Regions from separate parts of the Homo sapiens genome. Here regions 1 and 3 are each linked to region 2. Evidence: promoter capture Hi-C in human tissues and cell types (Jung and others, 2019). All regions are on one chromosome and are shown on one strand. The core of a region is centred on a gene start or on the middle of the fragment in contact, and the rest is flanking DNA. Distances in the headings are between cores, read along the strand shown.

The links. The method cuts DNA at HindIII sites, captures the fragments that hold promoters and counts their contacts. A contact is called where the count stands out against the background at its distance.
Region 1: a fragment that was not itself captured here is called in contact with the fragment with the promoter of MSS51 in region 2 in 3 of the 25 tissues and cell types used here (hippocampus, lymphoblastoid cells and mesenchymal stem cells).
Region 3: a fragment that was not itself captured here is called in contact with the fragment with the promoter of MSS51 in region 2 in 3 of the 25 tissues and cell types used here (adrenal gland, bladder and mesenchymal stem cells).

What each region holds. Positions count from the first base shown.
Region 1 is chr10:73,476,097-73,479,501 of GRCh38, reverse strand. It overlaps PPP3CB (protein phosphatase 3 catalytic subunit beta), which reads left to right. Exons shown (of 14, transcript NM_021132.4): 2 at 1-185; 3 at 879-1,003. Among named protein-coding and RNA genes, the nearest start is that of PPP3CB-AS1, 18 kb to the left of the region's middle. RefSeq lists a silencer at 645-845. The HindIII fragment of the contact is 4,697 bases long and covers 1-3,405 here.
Region 2 is chr10:73,432,108-73,435,535 of GRCh38, reverse strand. It overlaps MSS51 (MSS51 mitochondrial translational activator), which reads left to right and starts at 1,975. Exons shown (of 7, transcript NM_001024593.2): 1 at 1,975-2,023. The HindIII fragment of the contact is 24,221 bases long and covers 1-3,428 here.
Region 3 is chr10:73,380,025-73,383,552 of GRCh38, reverse strand. ANXA7 (annexin A7) reads left to right here. Exons shown (of 13, transcript NM_001156.5): 9 at 208-378; 10 at 3,352-3,522. Among named protein-coding and RNA genes, the nearest start is that of CFAP70, 23 kb to the right of the region's middle. The HindIII fragment of the contact is 3,836 bases long and covers 315-3,528 here.

The DNA of each region.
Region 1 (3,405 bases), core at 159-2,658, 45 kb before region 2:
AACACATCGCTTGACATCTGAAGAAGTATTTGATTTGGATGGGATACCCAGGGTTGATGTTCTGAAGAACCACTTGGTGAAAGAAGGTCGAGTAGATGAAGAAATTGCGCTTAGAATTATCAATGAGGGTGCTGCCATCCTTCGGAGAGAGAAAACCATGATAGAAGTAGAAGCTCCAATCACAGGTAAGCTTATTCATGTTTTGGGTATTATTTTTATTATGTCATTATTTAGTTGCCTGGATTTACAACTTACTGTTTTCAATGATACTGTATGCTAAATCAATATTACTTGGACATTATCTTGAATTTCAAATTATTTTCCATACTTAAAAATGATTGCCTGTTTTCAGTGAATAGACATGATTCTAAATAATCTGAGTGTAGAAGTTAGTCTAATATGCTTTTGTGAAGGTTTCATCAATTGTGTTGACCATACTTCAATTTGATCAATACTTACTTTGCTTTCAATTGTTAGGGTCAAATACCTTGATGTCATATCAGATACCAAAAGTGACCATTTAGAGAGCAACAGAAAGTATTGAGTTAGAATGGATATTTTAACTGCCACCATTGTAATTTTGTCATCTTGAAACTTAAAACACATCCTTGGAGTCCTAGAGACGATCTTTATAAATGTAGATTTCAGTTTGTCACTGACCACAAATTTCGTTATTTCTGTTACATCTTTTTCTAGATCTTGAGCACATGAACACTTGGTTACACATCATCCTAATCATGACTGTTCATAGACTACTTCCTTCTCAGACATTTCTTGATAGCATTTGTACTATGTCTTATGTAAAATACGTTTTAACTTAAGTAAAATTTGTTGTTTTAGAGATTTTTTTCCCTTATCTAATAATCTTCTTGTTTCAGTGTGTGGTGACATCCATGGCCAATTTTTTGATCTGATGAAACTTTTTGAAGTAGGAGGATCACCTGCTAATACACGATACCTTTTTCTTGGCGATTATGTGGACAGAGGTTATTTTAGTATAGAGGTAATAATCATAAACTGTCATTTGATTTGCTGTTAAGTGTTAACACAGATGCTTTCACTTAATCCTAGTTTTCACAAGTACCTGTGTTAGGTTTTTTTAATAACTCTGCATATTCTGAAGTTTTTATGAAAAGCTACTATTTATTCCTGTTCTGTCTTTCAAACAATTCAAATAAATTTCTTTGTATAACTCTGTTTATATAATTATAATTGCCATTTTTTTCCCAGTGGAATTTATGAGCTGACTGAGGGGTCTTTATTGCCCTGTTAACTAGTGGCCTTAAAAATTTAGTGCTATTTATCTCTCTTGCCCCTAAAGGCATTAAACCATGTGAAAAAAGATTACTTGAATTCTGTCTGATTAAATAAAGTATATTGTGATTTTTTTATTGCTTGAGCCCTAGTGCTTCTGTTTCTCCTTGTGTAGCTATTAAGACTCAAGTATATCCTATGGAATCTTTGTGTATTTGGAAAGTATTAATTTGTTTTTAAAAACTTGAGGCATTAAAATGACCTTTTGATTATCACTTAACAGTAGATGGTTCCTTTTCTTCCTTTTTCTCTTTTCTTTTTCTTTTTTTTTGAGACAGGGTCTTACTCTGTGGCCCATGCTGGAGTACAGTGGCACCAGCATGGCTCAATGTAGCCTTGACCTCTTGAGCTTAAGGGATCCTTCTGTCCCAGTCTCTCAAATAGCTGGGACCACAGGTACACACCACCATGCCTAGACTAATTTTTAATTTTTTTGTAGCAATGGAGTTTCCTATGTTGCCCAGGCTGGTCTTGAACTCCTGGGCTCAAGTGATCCTCCTGCCTTGGACTCCCAAAGTGTTGAGATTACAGATGTGAGCCACATTGCCCTGCCATCTTTTTAAATTATATAAACAAAATGCAGCAAATGTAGAACAATATGTATTTTCCAATATATACATTTTTTCTTTTTTTAATGAAAAGGGGATCATATTATAATATTGTCTGTAACTTGCTTTTTCATACATGCCTACACCAAATATCCTTCCAAGTCAGTAAATATAAACTCGTAGCATCATTTTAATATCTACATTGTTTTCCATCTAATAAACAAACCATAATTAATTAATTCCTTGTGTTAGACACTGAAGATGTTCCCAGTTTTTTTCTTTACAAATGATGCTTTAATGAGTCATATTATTCATACATCTTTACATACTTGCCTGATTATTTTTGTAGGACAAATTCCTAGAGGTAGAATTGTGGGGTCAAATTTCTACCAATAGATACCTGTGTTGCACATTTAATATGTTCTAAGCATGTTCTAGGCACTGAAGACATATCGATTAATCCTCACAATAATATTAATGAGGTAAGTACTGTTGTTTTATTCATTTTATAGATGAGGAACCTGAGGCTTAGAGAGGTTAAGTAACTTGCCCAAGGTATTATTAGTAAACAGCATAGCCAGGCAATGTGACTCCCAGCATATGCTTTTAACCACCTTCCCTAGTAGATACTGAAACCTTACCTGGTGAATTTATGTTGGTTACTGTTGTTTATATCTCCTTCTCCAGTGTTTCCAATATACCTTTTTTTCTGAGGTGTGCTAGGATTCTCAGAGTGGAAGGAAGTTCTAGACTCTGTCTGTCCTGCTTCCCTTAGGAATTTTGCTATTTTGAGTTCTTCTTCCTCCTGCTGATAGTTGATTATTAGCCTCGTCAACTTTTCCCAAATTGTCACAGGGCTTCAGGCAAATCAGAAAATGGCCCATTTTAACAAAAAAATTTCAGGCATTTGACCAAAACAATAAAATAAACAGTTTTATGAAGCTTATTTGGTAACTAAGTTGGTGTGCATGTCCTTGTGTAAGATTGTTTTGCAGCTGACTCTTTTTTTTTTTTTTTTTAATTGAGATGGACTCTCACTCTGTCGCCCAGGCTGGAGTGTAGTGGCGTGATCTCGGCTCACTGCAACCTCTGCCTCCCAGGTTCAAGAGATTCTCCTGCCTCAGCCTCCCAAGTAGTTGGGATTACAGGTGCCCACCACCACTCCCGGCTAGTTTTTGTATTTTTAATAGAGATGGAGTTTCGCCATGTTGGTCAAGCTGATCTCGAACTCCTGGCCTCAGGTGATCTGCCTGCCTCGGCCTCCCGAAGTGCTGGGATTACAGGCGTGAGCCACTGCGCCTGGATGTAGCTGACTCCTTTAATACATTTTGTTGTTATAAAAGGAAAATAACAAAGAATCAAAATAAGCATCGAGAACAGATTATTTCCCTGATTTTATTACTTTTTTCCCTTTTGAATAAAATGAAGGATATGAATAGTTACATGTTTAGATATACCTTAATTTATTAACAATAAAGTTTTGTTGGGTGTGGTGGCTCACACCTGTAATCGCAGCACAGGTTGGCCAAGTCAGGCAGATTGC
Region 2 (3,428 bases), core at 726-3,225:
TATGAAAGTTGCATACCTTAAAGATTGTTGTCGATGTTGTTTTATGAAAGCTATTCAGTAAAGAGTTTATCTGGCTAAAATAGACCCAATAGAAAAATTAAAAAGTAAGTAAGAGTTTAACTAGTATATTAGGTGCCAGGAACTTTCCTAGCCCTTAGGTACATAACTAGCATTATATAGTGTTTGTGGGAATCATGGGTGAGCATTAAGTAGTATTAGCAAAAAAACTATGGATTGATGGTAAAAATTAAGAGGAAAATAAGAGAAAGGAACCAAACTCAGGAAAAGCAAAATACCTGAAGAGTGATAAAGTATCACATAGTGCCTCACAGACCACTTCCTACATGTTGAATAGGAACCTCTTTCTAGTCTTTCTTCATAATTCATTTCACAGCATACCATTTATTAAGATTTTTTAAATGCAACTCATGATGAATACAAATTGTGAAAAGTTCAGACTTCGTAACTTTAAATGTTTACCAGAGCAAGTCATAGTGATAGTAAAATATAAGTATTCAACATCAAAGTTTTTCTATATTACTATTCTCCTTTATATTCATTGACAACTTCTGAATTAGAAAAGTCAATCTCTGATGTCTTGTATCTTCTGCAGTTCAGCCATTATTAACAGAACTCAAAACATTTGAGGTTCTCAGATAAATTTTGAAGCCTGTTAAATTTGAAGTTGGCCTGAAACTTTTGCACAAAGTGAATTACCCCTATTTTATTTAGGGTTTTTGCCTATTGCAACTGATTTTCCTTTATCCACAGCTATTCTACATAATGTTATGCAGTGTTTGGTTGAATCCTTAACACTTTTCTTCCACCTTCCCTGCATGTAGTTTGTACTTTTTACAGTTTGGGGTTCCTGTGTGGATTTGATTTGCCACATTCCGGGACCTCATTGCGAGTGATTCTGTTCCCCAGTTTGATGATGTTCAAAGAAGCAGGTAAGTGAGAGCTGGGGTCAGATATAAGCAGAAAGTCAGAACTTTTTTATTTAAAAATTTTAAAAAAATTTTTTGAGGGTAAGAAAGATCTTGCAGTCTTTTAGGACCACTGCCCTAACAACTTCAGATAGGCTAGCTGTAAGTAGAAAGAAGCTAGGACTGTGGAATTGAATTTCCTGGATCAGCTGCAATTACAAGGAGGATAAGAGAATGGTTGAGCTGATTCTTTTCTATTTTCTTTTCCTAGAAATAGTATGTATTTTTAGTCATTAACTAGTATTTTGGTTTTGTTTAATATCCCAGAAGCATTTATTCCTCTCTTAATACAGGTAAAGTGCTCCTGATGACTCTCTCACTCAGAGAGTTATCTTACCCTTCTTTCAGGGAAAGTGAATTTTACAAGTTAATTCTGCATGTTTCCCCTACAACTGATTTCATTCTGTACCATTAAATGGCCATTTATTTTCTCCCTTCTACTTAATCCAAGATTGGACATTGTTGAGTTTTGTTTGAACAATGTTTGTTATGCTGAAAAAGGACACCAGGCCTGGGGGAACTCATCCTGTGTCTAGATCAACAAACAGAACTCCAGAGGGTCCTCTGGTTCCTCCCACTTGGTTGGAAAGGTGCTTACCCTTTCCAATCAAATATTGACTTCTGCACTAATCCAAAGGGTTTTCTTCTGAAGCTGTAAACTGAGAACAGAAATATTGCCTTGAGTGAGAGAAGTCTAGGAAGCAGCAGGTTTCATTTTTTGTCAGCCTGCCTGGCCTTTACTTGGCTAACACTTGGGAGTGTTGACAGTCCTGAGCCCCCTTGGCAGAGAACAAAGGTTAGAGAGAAGCCCTCAGGCAGGGGGACAGATCCCTCTTTGCCTCATTAGGGAGAATTCAGCCTTGTCTGTCTGGTTGGCAGGGCACACTTAATCACTGAGACTCAGCATTTCAGCAGTTTGCAAAGGAAAGTGATATGAAGGGACAGCTGCAAGTAAGCCACAACCTAGATCTGAAGAGATCAAGCACTCATTTCACTTGGAGGAAAGAGAGAAGGAAGGAAGCTGAGGACTTAGCAGGGTAAGTTTTTTTTTCCGTCAACCTGTCTGCTTGCTTAGTTTATAATTGAGTAAAGTATTTATCACCCCAGGCAGTGTTAATCACTGATTAAACAGCTGAATGTGGCCATAATTACAGTGTCCTTAATGTATTTCTCCTTCTCTTTTCCTACCCCCTTATAAGGATCTCCAATGACCAGTTTCAGTCTTCCTTCTCCCTACCTCTCCAAAGACGTTTTGCATTTTTTGGTGACTTACAGAAAATTAGATGAGCACTCCTTATCTGGAGATAGTGAAAATATGACTGTAGTTTAGGTGAAACTTGGGACTCTTGGTGGTAAAGAAGAAGATGGGAAACCTAGGTCTAGGAATAGATTAATATTTTGTCTTGAATTTGGACATGAAGGATAAAAGTTTTTCTAGGCAATCAAGATCATGTCTCCTCTCCAGTTCTTGGTGTTGGTGTTCTCTCTCTTATACTGGGACTAAATTAGAGCCTAAGTCACTGGGGATGGCTAGAAAAAAATGAAAGGGATTCCCTTTCTAAGTGGAGAGCATTCTAGACTCTGGAAAGTTCAAAGAGCTTACTGCAATTCTTTCCAGCTTCTCCTGTGAGTCCCCTGTTTTTTCCTTTGTTTCTCTCAGTTTATAACCTGTGAACAGGGAGTAGCCTGGGGCTCTTTACAGGAGATTTAGAACCAGGGAAGCTGTGTCTGGGCCTGGGGTATATAAACTCAAACATGAACCTGATGATGTATATAGATGCAGATCAAAGACCTGGCTTCTCACCCACCTTCTTTCTTTTCTGCCAGAAAGCTAACTCATTTGTATCATGAACATTGTGCTCTAGACACAGAGGAGACTGTGACATTAGGGATTTTTACCACCACTCCTCTTCCTCAAACTGTGTGATCCTTTTGCTTTCTGACCAGTTCAGCCAACTCCCAGATTGCCAAGAGCTAATCTTCCTTTAGAGGAAGACCTCACCTTGGAAATGCGGAAAAGTAAAGCAGTACCTTTCTGACCTTAAGTGGCTTGCTTCCATTGCAGCAAAAAGGCTTATGTTTTAACTTCAGGGAGATATCTATTATAAATTCTGGGATTTAAGACCCTAGAGTTGTCTCAAATCACACTTTCCTTCCATACCTATTTAAAAAAAAAAAAGTCATTCTTTCAAGGTTTAAGAAAGTGGTGTCTTGGCCGGGCGCCGTGGCTCATGCCTGTAATCCCAGCACTTTGGGAGGTCGAGGTGGGTGGATCACGAGGTCAGGAGTTCGAGACCAGCCTGACCAACATGGTGAAACCCCATCTCTACTAAAAATACAAAAATTAGCTGGGCATGGTGGCGCGAGCCTGTAATCCCAGCTACTCAGGAGGCTGAGGCAGGAGAATCACTTGAACCCGGGAGGTGGAGGTTGCAGTGAGCC
Region 3 (3,528 bases), core at 983-3,482, 52 kb after region 2:
GAATATTTTGTCCTATTTCATATGTAAAACCGTACAAATTATGACAGTTCTGAATTTACAGTGGTAATTAAAGCAATTCTTTATTTCACATCATCCATCTGAATATATAGTTTTTAGTTCTACAGAACAAAGAAATATTTGACGAAGATTTAATTACTTGCAGAAATTTCATTTTTCTTTGTATAATCTTCCCTTCATTTCATGTAGGGAGCAGGAACTCAGGAACGTGTATTGATTGAGATTTTGTGCACAAGAACAAATCAGGAAATCCGAGAAATTGTCAGATGTTATCAGTCAGAATTTGGACGAGACCTTGAAAAGGACATTAGGTCAGATACATCAGGACATTTTGAACGTTTACTTGTGTCCATGTGCCAGGTGAGTATAGTATGAATGCTTGTGCGTTGATAGAGGGAACATACTTTAAAAGCCTTTTGCCAGTGAGCATTCTTTATTCCTTTTAATATTTAGCCACCTTGCAATATTGCCATCTTTAAGAGGGACAACACAGAAACCAGTGTACAGATTTCTTTGTAGTTACTATTGAGATTTATTCCTGTAAATCTGGCTTTTGTAAGGAATTAGAGATTTAACCTCTAAGGTTGTATGGAATCAGAAACCAATTCGAGGCTCTGTGGCTGGGATGGGGATGAAACTGTACATTTGAGCTTATCACTATCCTGCCCATTATGCCCCACCATCAAGTGAAGATGTGCAGGACTGCCATAGAGGTGCTACAGGAAGTGAGGACTATGTGAGGAGACCCAGAAATGCAGAAAAATGTTTTAGGGTTCCCAGTAATAACTGTGATTAGCACCTTCTTTATTTTGATTCCCCAGGTGTGCTGGAGAATTGACAGAAAATACTCCAAATAGGGTATTTGGAATGGCATTAGAAACACACTTAGGGCCAGACATTGTGCCTCACACCTGTAATTCCAGCACTTTTGGAGGCCAAGGCAGGAGGATTGCTTGAGGCCAGGAGTTTGAAGCCAGCTTGGGTACCATAGCAAGAAACCATCTCTATAAAAAATATTTTTAAAAATTAGCCGAACATGGTGGTATGTGCCTGTAGTGCCAGCTATTCAGGAAGTTCAGTGGGAGGATCACTTGAGCCCAGGAGATTGAGGCTGCAGTGAACTGTGATCGCACCACTGCATTCCAGCCTGGGCAATAGAGTGAGATCCTGTCCTTAAAAAAAAGAAAAGAAAAAAAGAAAAGAAGCACACTTAGATGATGAAGGTGTATTTGAAAGAGATTATGTAAATGACTAGCATGCTGATTCAATATCAAGAGTTATTGCCTATTGTGCTAGTGCACAAGATTGGACCATCTGGAGGGATCTAAAGGAGAGGAGGGGCTCTTAAGAGCCAAGGGAGGGGCTGGGTGTGGTGGTTCATGTCTGTAATCCCAGTACTTTGGGAGGCTGAGGCGGGTGGATCACCTGAGGTCAGGAGTTTGAGACCAGCCTGACCAACATGGTGAAACTCCATCTCTACTAAATACAAAAAATTAGCCAGGAGTGGTGGCACCTGTAATCCCAGCTACCTGGGAGGCTGAGGCAGCAGAATCGCTTGAACCCGGGAGGCAGAGGTTGCAGTGAGCTGAGATTGTGCCATTGCACTCCAGCCTGGGTAACAAGAGCAAAACTCCATCTAAAAAAAAAAAAAGGGAGGTAGCTGTGGAAAGGATAGTGGATATGGAAATGAGAAAGCAAAGTAAATGGGTTGAAGGAAATTGAATTTACCTAAATCAGAGTAACAGGAGGGCAGTAGGTTAGGATTTAAAAGAAACAAGAAGGAAAACAGACAATGCTAAAAAATGGCTATTAAGATTTTACATGAGGTGCTGAGTCTCTCTTTATGCAGAGTTCAAGGCCCAGCCCTACCTTTTCCAGGGCATGAGTAGAGGAGTAACTTCCTGAGAAAGTGTGTGTGAATCCAAAGGCAATAATCTGGGAAATTTTTTGTGAGTACCTTTTCCTGTGTTATATTCAGTCGCCCATGTAGAATGTGCCTCTACGTATTCCTTGTGCCAGTTGCTCAGAAGACAGTTCTTCAGCTTCAAGGAGGATTTTTCCATCTTATTCCAAAGATGGTCCCTGAGACTCTAAAAGGCAGCCTTTTCTTGTTTGGGTTTGTCTTTCTGTTTTTGAGAGAAACCAACTGCTCATTAAGCTTAAACTCTTCCTTCCTCCTTCCTTTCTTCCTATTCCAGGGAAGAGTGTGGTATACAAATAGGCACAGTCTAACAGAACATGAGTTATTTGTAGCTGCTTCTGTAAAGCTTATGTGTCATTTTTATGCGTGTATTTATGGTAAATACTTACATATTAAGATTATAATTCGATGGCTGAGTGTGGTGGTGTGAGCTTATAGTCCCAGCTACTCTGGAGGCTGAGGTAGGAGGATCACTTGAACCCAGGAGTTTGAGGCTATGATCATGTCTGCAAATAGCCATTGCACCCCAGCCTGGGCAACATAGTGAAATCGTGTCTCTTAAAAAAAAATATTATACTCAGATGAAGAAAAGAAAGTTTATGAAGCCTCCATATTATATCCTCCCTCCCTCCTGCCCTAGAGTTAAATTTCTTGAGGGCAGAGACCCTGTCTCTCCTGTGTCCCTACCGCTTAACACAGTGCCTGACACAAAGAAAGTGCTTAATGTCTCTTAGTCGCATGAATGAATAAAAAGTAGAACTCAGTACAGTGCATATTGATCTTAAATTCCAGCTAAGAGAGCTGTTTCTTCATTTGAGTGGTAGTTAATATCTCCTAGTAGAGATATTTTTGTTTAAACATTTTGGGTTTAATTTAGCTCCCAAAAGCCCTCATTTTTAACATAACCTCATTAAACCGTGATCTTATATTATAAAATCCAGTTGACAGTATAATAAATTACTAGTTATATTTCCATGCATAGAAATGAAGCATATGCATGACAGACATTATGGATTAATCTTTAATAAATTATCTCTTTAGGCCAGGCCCAGTGGCTTACATCTATAATCCCAGCACTTTAGGAGGCTAAGGCAGGAGGATCACTTAAGCCCAGGAGTTAGAGACCAGCACCTGGGCAACATAGTGAGACATGCTGTCTCTACAAAAAATAAAAAAATTAACCAGGCATGGTCGTTTGTGCCTGTAGTCCCAGCTATCTGGGAGGCTGAGGTGGAAGGATCACTTGAGCCTAGGAGGTTGATACTGCACTCCAGCCTGAGTGACAGAGCAAGACCCTATCTCAAAAAAAAAAGAAATAGTCTCTTTAAATCCAAAAGTGAACTAGATTGGAAAAAAAAAATTTAGTAGAACTATTATTTATTTCTTCCAATTCCTGCCTTTCTCTTTTGCAGGGAAATCGTGATGAGAACCAGAGTATAAACCACCAAATGGCTCAGGAAGATGCTCAGCGTCTCTATCAAGCTGGTGAGGGGAGACTAGGGACCGATGAATCTTGCTTTAACATGATCCTTGCCACAAGAAGCTTTCCTCAGCTGAGAGCTACCATGGAGGCTTATTCTAGGGTATGA